Regions from separate parts of the Homo sapiens genome. Here region 2 is linked to region 1. Evidence: promoter capture Hi-C in human tissues and cell types (Jung and others, 2019). All regions are on one chromosome and are shown on one strand. The core of a region is centred on a gene start or on the middle of the fragment in contact, and the rest is flanking DNA. Distances in the headings are between cores, read along the strand shown.

Region 1 (4,576 bases), core at 2,077-4,576:
GGGTTGGGTCTTGGATTCCCAGTGCTGCCCCAAACCCATCTACAGCGCAGCCTGGAAGATGGAGGGTTTGGGTGCTCTGGGGCCTTCCCTCTTGGCATCCCCACTATCACAGAAAATTCCGACCCACCATGGGCCTCCTAGTACGTCCCTCTGCAAAGCAAGGGAGGAATCCCACAGCTCCTGACCCCTCTCTGCTCCCCAGACCCGCTGCTGGTCAGGCCTGCTGCTTCCTGGTTCCCCCATGGACTTTCCAGAACTCAGCCTTCCATGACAGGGTCACAGGACCCTGGCTGCTCCGTGGGAGCCCCGGCAACACAGAGCTGAGCACGTGGCAGGGGCTTAATAAAGTCATGCGCAATCAACAGGCTCTTTCATCCTTCTATCACCACCCCTCCGAGGGTCCCTTGACACCGGTTCCTAGTGCCAGGAACTGGCAACAAGCTTCAAGCACATGCCTGGGTCTTAAAAATGTGGGTGTGAATCCCAGCCTGCAGGGACAGGCGGAGAGAGAAGCTGCCCTTCACCCCAGACAGCTCTGGCTCAGCTCAGCCTTCGAGTCCACGCCCTCATTTGACCCCAGCTCTGCACCCTCCATAACCTGCCCAGGTCTCTTTTAGGACCCCACCCTGCAGGTTTCAACCTAAGGATGCCAGGACACCTCCAGCCACCAAGGCAAGGCCTTGCCCAGCATGAGGAGAGGTGATGGAAGGCAGGCTCCCCTGGGCTCACAGAACTGCTGGGCCTGTCAGCCACTGCAGGAGACCTAAACCCAAGTAGAATGAGGTCAGAAGGAGGGAGTAGAGAGGAAGGGAGAGGACAGCTCTGGTGGAGGGGCCACCTCTGGCCCCCCTGCACAAGGTTCACCCTGAGCAAGGAAAGATGCTGAAGACAGATAAAAACAGGAAAGACAGAGGAAGTGGGAGTGGGGGTCAACCCCAAGAGATAAATCCCTCCCTTCTCTCACAAGTCAAGAGGAAAGAAGGAAAATAGTGGCCACATGTCTGGCTCTGTGCTGGGGACTTTTCATAATCCTCTCATTCCATCCTCTCAAATATGCCACAAGAAAGGTATGATTACCCCCAGGTCACAGACGGGACTCTGAAGCTCTGAGAGCTTAAAAAGCTTCCCCGGGGAGTGGCTGGGCCAGGCCAGGTCCCTAGCTCAAGTCATGGTGTGGACCCCCAGGTCTCCATCTCAGCAGGGATGGCTGGCAGGAGCGCAGTCCTGGCCAGGGGAGTCTGTGCAGAGGCCCAGGCTATGTTCAGAGCAGAGTTTATTCAAATAGAGCCTAACAGGAAACTTGGCTCCTCTGACTCACTCTGATTCGACCTTATTAAGAAAAAAAGAGAGAGGAGCAGGAGCCAGCATCGGGTAAGGTTTCACGCCAAGAGCTGGCTCTGAGGCCCGCTGAGTGGAATGGCATGTGCCCTGATCCCCCCACATCCAAAGCCTTGAGGCAGCCCCTGCCCTGCTGTCCGAGTCAAGGCGAGGGGTCCTGCCTTCACGTTAGGGCAACTGAGTTCCCTTCCTCACAGCCATCCTCTGTCCTCCCTCCACTCCTCTTCCCTTCCCTCCCTGCCTAGGGGTACCCTGAGGCCTGTTTCCATTTCTCCCCCTCCTCTGCTGCAGCAGCTGCCCATCTGGCTGGCGGGAGGGCCCTACAGGACCCCAGGGATTCCAAGCAGCTGAGGCCAACACTGCAGGGGGCAAGCAGGAGGGAGGGAAGGCTTAACCCTCCAGGTCCCGGCCCTCAGTAAGCCCTGCCTCAGCATCTTGCTTGGTGTCAGTCACACCAGTGGCTCTTTGGAGGAATCTTGTCTGGAGTCTGAGATGGAAACCCCATGCTGGGGAGCTGAGGTGTCAGCGTTGACAAGTTGCTGGCCAGGAGGTATTGGAAGCCCCCTACCTCTGGGCTGGATTCTGGGCATTTAAAGGGTAGAGACATGCTGGAGTCCAAGCCTCAGTCCTGAAGAACAGTGCAATGGGTGAACAAATGCTGCCTGGCAAGGATGGGGTTGGGAGGTCTATAGTTCCCAAAGAATGTCCACTCTAGTTGCCTCCTCTCTAGGTGGGCTCCAGGCATTTCCAAAATAAAGAATATACAGGAGCCAAATTAAGGACAGGTCCTTCATACCTTGTTTATAAGCCCAAGAGGGCAATTTCTGCCCTTCGGTTCCCAGGAACACGGTTGGAGAAGGCAGCCCAGGGGAGGCCAGAAGAGCAGTATTTGGAGTGTGATTTCTTGGATGCCAAAGCGTTCAAACTTCTGGGACCCCCTCCTATCCCTGCCATTCCCAGAAGGAACAGAGAATCTCCCAAAGCACTCTCAGGAGCCATCTGGCCTAATCTTCCATTGGTAAGCCGTGGCACCTGGATCAGATAGAGTAAGGGACTAAGCCACACAGCAACAGGACCAGGCCAGGTCTCCGGAACCCCCTTCTGTTGTTCAATGCTTACTGGCTTCTCTGCCTCACAGTGACCCCTGTCCCATATCAAAGACAGCCCCCAGTTTCATTTTATCCATGTGTACACTCAAGTTATTCCCAGGCTATGCAGAGCCAAGAGATGTAGGACAGAAACCATACGTGATGTCTGGGAAGTTGATCTCTCCCAGGATCTCACAAGTGCTTTTCAGCTCAGGGATACACCCCACTCTTCAGACTGGGAAAGTAAGCCCCTGAGGTGTGCCACGAGGGAAAAGGTGCAGCTCCAGTGCCTCTCTTCGCAGGCCCAAGAGCTGCGGTGCACCTGGGACCTGGAATTAGAGAGTGGTCCCTGTTCAGCATCTCCCCGAGGAGGCCCACCAACAAAGAGGGTGTGTCTTTTTTTTTTTTTTCTTCCTATTGAGGGTGTGGGATAATGGTGGAAGGAACATGCAAAGAGGGTGTGTCTTAATTAGCACTGGCTTTAGGGAACAAGGAAAAGGGAGAACCCGGGAGTACGGGAAGGAGGCTGGGGCAGACAGGAGTCAGAGGCCCATTCCAGCCCAAACGAGAAGCCAGTGAGCAAGGTGGAGACCAGGGATGCTGTGACCAAAGCAGAGAGGAATGGGCGGGGTGGTGCTGACACCCCAGCCCCGTTCTGCCTGCCAGAGCCCCACTTACCAGGCCCGAGTCCCCAGAGGTCCCCTCCTACTCCCTGCTCGATTCCCTTCCTCAGAGGCAGGTCTGTGGCTTGGCTGGGAACTCCAGGGACTGAGGGAGCACTGCAGCTGTGGGACCGGCGCATAGCTAAAAGCCGGCGGGCCATAGGGCCCCGCGGAGGAGGCCCCAGCAGGCGGACCAGGAGGCCGAAGCCTCCCGACGCTCCCAGCCTGTTGCTTATTCATTCAGAGTGGGAAAGCGCCAGCCGAGCGGCCAGCCAGTGCGGGGCTGGCCATGTAAGGCCCACAGGCGGTCCTGCCCGCCCGGTGCCCTGCGGAGAGCCTCGTGCAGCCCTGGGCACCGCCCCTGCCCTGCCCTGACCCCTTGGCCTTGAAATGCTGTCATCGGAGGAGCCGTCCCGCTCGGGACAAGGCCAGCATGGACAAAGCTAGAGCTGGGGCAAGCAAGGAGCCTTCCTGTCCTCGAGGCCGTGGGAAGAGAAGCACGCCCAGGGGGCCACTCCTGAGAGCCTCTCTGTCCACCAGGCCTCTGCAGAGGGGTCACCATGGCTCTGGCCCGAGGCAGCCGGCAGCTGGGGGCCCTGGTGTGGGGCGCCTGCCTGTGCGTGCTGGTGCACGGGCAGCAGGCGCAGCCCGGGCAGGGCTCGGACCCCGCCCGCTGGCGGCAGCTGATCCAGTGGGAGAACAACGGGCAGGTGTACAGCTTGCTCAACTCGGGCTCAGAGTACGTGCCGGCCGGACCTCAGCGCTCCGAGAGTAGCTCCCGGGTGCTGCTGGCCGGCGCGCCCCAGGCCCAGCAGCGGCGCAGCCACGGGAGCCCCCGGCGTCGGCAGGCGCCGTCCCTGCCCCTGCCGGGGCGCGTGGGCTCGGACACCGTGCGCGGCCAGGCGCGGCACCCATTCGGCTTTGGCCAGGTGCCCGACAACTGGCGCGAGGTGGCCGTCGGGGACAGCACGGGCATGGCCCGGGCCCGCACCTCCGTCTCCCAGCAACGGCACGGGGGCTCCGCCTCCTCGGTCTCGGCTTCGGCCTTCGCCAGCACCTACCGCCAGCAGCCCTCCTACCCGCAGCAGTTCCCCTACCCGCAGGCGCCCTTCGTCAGCCAGTACGAGAACTACGACCCCGCGTCGCGGACCTACGACCAGGGTTTCGTGTACTACCGGCCCGCGGGCGGCGGCGTGGGCGCGGGGGCGGCGGCCGTGGCCTCGGCGGGGGTCATCTACCCCTACCAGCCCCGGGCGCGCTACGAGGAGTACGGCGGCGGCGAAGAGCTGCCCGAGTACCCGCCTCAGGGCTTCTACCCGGCCCCCGAGAGGCCCTACGTGCCGCCGCCGCCGCCGCCCCCCGACGGCCTGGACCGCCGCTACTCGCACAGTCTGTACAGCGAGGGCACCCCCGGCTTCGAGCAGGCCTACCCTGACCCCGGTCCCGAGGCGGCGCAGGCCCATGGCGGAGACCCACGCCTGGGCTGGT
Region 2 (4,576 bases), core at 522-3,021, 660 kb before region 1:
CCTAAGCATGAATTGGGAAAGCCCGTATGGATTCTGCTGTATTGCCCTGGGCCCATGGTGCATGGTGCTTTTGTGCTCATTCTGGCCTCAGAGAAGGTGTCTGTTGTATATGGCACAGGACAGCTCCATGAGTATAGACTTTCCATCAAATAAGTACTGTACAGTACTCTGATTTCTAAAGTTTGTGAAGTTTGTTACTTGGAACTGTGATAACCATGGCATTTCCGTTAACTGATGGGAATTCATCACTGGGTTGTTCTCTGACTCTGTGGAAGAAACTATGGTAGATAGTCCAGCATGGTGTCAGCTTACCTTTCCTGAAGGAAGAGTACACCCTTGAGTTCCTTTTGCTTTATTTGGGTGTCAGCTATGTCACTGTACTGCCATTAGACCCAGGACATCAGGAGGTCTGAACTTGACCCTTTGTGGGTATCAGATACCGTCAATACCCATGGCTGACATTCAAGACTCAGGTTTGAGTGTTGGACCCTTACATGAATAGTGATATGCACAGATAACTCTTGTCCCAAAAATTCAGCCACATTCACTGAAATCTCAAACCATGAGGTTTGTATTGCTTGTTTAGAAATTGTACCCCTGATTCTAAAAGCAGTTTTTGTCTTCGTGAGCCTTTTTGGTTTTGGGGTTTTTTTGTTTTCTGAGACAGAGTCTTGCTCTGTCACCCAGGCTGGAGTACAGTGGTGCAATCTCAGCTCACCGCAGCCTCCATCTCCCAGATTCAAGCGATTCTCATGCCTCAGCCTCCCGAGTAGCTGGGACCCCAGGCACCTGCCACCATGCCCAGCTAATTTTTGTATTTTTAGTAGAGACAGGTTTCACCATATTGGCTAGGCTGGTCTTGAACTCCTGACCTCAGGTGATCTGCCCGCCTCTGCCTCCCATAGTGCTGGGATTACAGGCATGAGCCACTGCACCTGGCCTCATGAGGCTTTTTGAACAGGAAGTAGAATTTTCAAGTTATTTTAAGAAAATTCAAGCACGAATACATTAATATAATCACTGGATTATAACATTTTAATATGCCTATAGAATGCAGTAGAGAATATAGTTTATTACTGCTTCTCTTAACATTTTTCTGTAATTTTTTCCTGAAAGAACACAAGTGGAAATAGTCTTTTAAATGAATGGTGGTTATCTATTAACTCTGAATTTTCTTTCTTTTTCTCCATTTCTCACCTTTCATTCCATTATATTACCCTGCATTTCCCTTTTATTTTATTTTTGTTTACATTAAAATGCCACTTCCCTTTTTAAATTATTTTCTGCTCAGACACTTCTGAAGTTGATTTATTTGTTATTAATGCTCCATACACTCCAGTGCCAGATCCCACTCCCATGATGCCACCAGTGGGAGTTCAGGCTTCCATTCTGAGTCATGACACCATCAGGATTACGTGGGCAGACAACTCGCTGCCCAAGCACCAGAAGATTACAGACTCCCGATACTACACCGTCCGATGGAAAACCAACATCCCAGCAAACACCAAGTACAAGGTACTGACACATTTGCCCTGGCTGAAAAAAGCTAATCATTGATACTTTCTAATTTTAAAGTCTCAATTCATGTTTTTTTCAGAATGCAAATGCAACCACTTTGAGTTATTTGGTGACTGGTTTAAAGCCGAATACACTCTATGAATTCTCTGTGATGGTGACCAAAGGTCGAAGATCAAGTACATGGAGTATGACAGCCCATGGGACCACCTTTGAATTAGGTATGTGTTGTCAGAAGCCATGTCACATGGCTGCTTTTACTTCCCAAGGAAAGAATTGAGTGCCTGAATTGACATATTTACAAAACACAGTGAGCAACTACATTTGGAATTCAGTGTTTGCTATTTCAGCTGACAAGTTGTGTGTTTTTAATTACTGAACAAGAACATTAGCAAATAACAGGATACTACAGGGAAAACATGATAAATTACAAAGCACTGGGTAGATGTAAGGGATTATTGCCATTAATCCTGCTTTACTGGTAAACTGAGATAGAAAAGATGAAGTGACCTGCCCTTGACCAGGCAGTTCCAATGCCATGCTTGCTTGGAGCCTGAACACTTTGCTGGGTGACCCCAAAGCTGCCTCTGCAGTTTGCTTGCAAGCAAATTAGCGTCTTATAAAATCTTCCACTGAAATAATCCTTAAGGTCTTTGTAAGTGGACACGAGAGGGAAAAGATGACTAAGCAAATTAAAGAGAGAACAGGCTATCTGGGTTTGAGATTCTGTTTGGTTTTTGCTGACTTTTAGACATGCCTTTCTGCTACCCCCTGGGCTTTCCTAGTCTAGGGATATGCATAACCATTTCAAATCTCTGTCTATTTTGGCCTCCTATTTCTCTCCTATATGAATAATGGAGTTATAAATTCTCCACAAACTGGGCTTGGCCTCAGTGTCTTTTTGTCTTCTGCACAGTTCACTGGACTTTGTACAGAGAGAAGGGTTGGATTTGAAGAGTTAGAAATACAGTACATCAAAGTTTAAATAGACCTTGAGTTTGCTTTCTTTGCCAACCATTTTAAGAAAATGTTTTTACTTCAATCCTAACCCATTAGATAACAAATGAGATTGTGTTTTCCCTTAGGATATTTGCATTTCACCAGGCTTCCTTACATTTTATACTAAGAGAATTCTAGTATTTTAGGAAGAGTTGAGTAAATTTAAGGATGTACTTAATTTGCTCATTTTCCTACTAGTGTGTTAAAAGTTTTCAGCTATCACATGGAAACACAGGAAACGTATTGTCCTGTTGCATAAACGAACAGCTTCACTTTAGAGCTGTAACCTCAATAGTTGGCAGTATGTTTGCAGAATAAACTCATAGTGAAAAATATTAATCTGTAAATCATCTATTCTTTGAAGAAATAGGGCTTTTAAAAGTTATATTTGGGGCTGGGAGTGGTGGCTTGCACCTGTAATCCCAGTGCTTTGGGAGGCCATGGTGGGCGGATCACCTGAGGCCAAGAGTTCGAGACCAGCCTGGCCAACATGGCGAAACCCCATCTCTACTAAAAATACAAAAATTAGCTGGATGTGGTGGTGCGCACCTGTAATCCCAGCTACTCGGTAGGCTAAGGCACGAGAATCACTTGAACCCAGGAGGCAGAGGTTGCAATGAGCAGAGATTGTGCCACTGCACTCCAGCCTGGGTGACAGAGCTAGACTCCATCTCAAAAAAAAAAAAAAAAAAACAGCTATATTTGGTTTGGAGAGCCAACTATAAATGAGAGAGAAAACTGTTTTACAATTTACAGTATTCTAACAAAATAATCCAGTGTGACAGGGAAGAAGTCATCTTGGACGAATTACATAACTTCTCTAATTTTTTGGTGTCCTGATCCATAAAGCAGAGATAGTGATAACTACCTTTCAAATTTTCTACAAATACTAAGTGAGATACTATGTGTACGTTACCTGGTATACGGTAGGTACTTGGTACAAATGCCACTTGACTTTCCTACCTAATTATCCTGTTTATCCCTGACTCCCAGCCAAGATGCCAATTCTGTATCTTCATAGTATGGTATTTCCTCTTTGGTACTCTGAATATTCTTCTTTTGATTGGAACTTTTGATAGACAAACTGTGATTTCTTTGAAGCCAGAAGCTTTATCTTTTTTGCCTTGTGCCCTTTATTTTGCCTTACAAGTGGAAAAGGTTGAAGAAATAGTGAACTAATTTGAAATGGACAGAAATTATTAAAAATTTTGTTATTTTGTAGTTCCGACTTCTCCACCCAAGGATGTGACTGTTGTGAGTAAAGAGGGGAAACCTAAGACCATAATTGTGAATTGGCAGCCTCCCTCCGAAGCCAATGGCAAAATTACAGGTAAAATGCAATCAAGTGTGCATTTCTTTGTGCGCTCTTCCTGCCTGACAGGAGTATTCCAGGAGAGTACCATGTTGCTGGGAGAAGTGGGAGTCTGAAGGCTGGCTTGGTCATTTTATGGTAAGGTGTGAGTCATGATGGTCCTTGAAATTGGGGTGAGGCTGTGCTGGTCGCCCATAGCGGCATAAAATGGGTTGCCTGTTGGTGGTTCTGACTGCAGTCGGGGATGGGAGGCACTAGACAGCCTTTGGCTATAGTGGGACTTTGTAGACATTTATTTTCCTTAGGAAAGCTGCTCTTCTCTGTCTCCGCCTAGATGGACAGCTTCAGAATTATATACCCCCTCCCTGGTTCTGTAGAGTAATACCCAATAAACAGAGATTCTGCTCTTGTACCCTGAAGCCACAAAAAAAAAAAAAAAAAAAGCCCATTAGATATTTAATTCCTTTTCACTGCCCCCCGAGACCTGCTACTTCAAGTACCTGTGCTCTTATAATTAGAGTTAAAAGTGAACTTGCCTAGGTCTTTGTAGGGACCTGGAATTTTTTCCTTGTACTTTCAGAGGAAAACCTTCCACAGTAGAGGGGACACTCTGCCTTCCTCAGCCTTATCAGGGATGGAAGCCTGATGGGGTTCAGCTGCTCTTACTTCCTTTGGCGCCTCTGGCCCATGTAGGTGTGTGCTGAGGAACTGGGGTTTGCCCTGAAGTTCCTCTGTATGAATAGGTGGCCT

The links. The method cuts DNA at HindIII sites, captures the fragments that hold promoters and counts their contacts. A contact is called where the count stands out against the background at its distance.
Region 2: a fragment that was not itself captured here is called in contact with the fragment with the promoter of LOXL1 in region 1 in 1 of the 25 tissues and cell types used here (lymphoblastoid cells).

The regions. Positions count from the first base shown.
Region 1 is chr15:73,923,136-73,927,711 of GRCh38, forward strand. It overlaps LOXL1 (lysyl oxidase like 1), which reads left to right and starts at 3,327. Exons shown (of 7, transcript NM_005576.4): 1 at 3,327-4,576. The coding sequence starts at 3,649. The region is part of intron 1 of LOXL1-AS1 (LOXL1 antisense RNA 1); the gene reads right to left. RefSeq lists enhancers at 1-794, 3,833-4,576 and a silencer at 4,575-4,576. The HindIII fragment of the contact is 8,654 bases long and covers 782-4,576 here.
Region 2 is chr15:73,268,719-73,273,294 of GRCh38, forward strand. NEO1 (neogenin 1) reads left to right here. Exons shown (of 29, transcript NM_002499.4): 17 at 1,292-1,515; 18 at 1,598-1,736; 19 at 3,737-3,844. Among named protein-coding and RNA genes, the nearest start is that of MIR12135, 29 kb to the right of the region's middle. The HindIII fragment of the contact is 6,003 bases long and covers 1-4,576 here.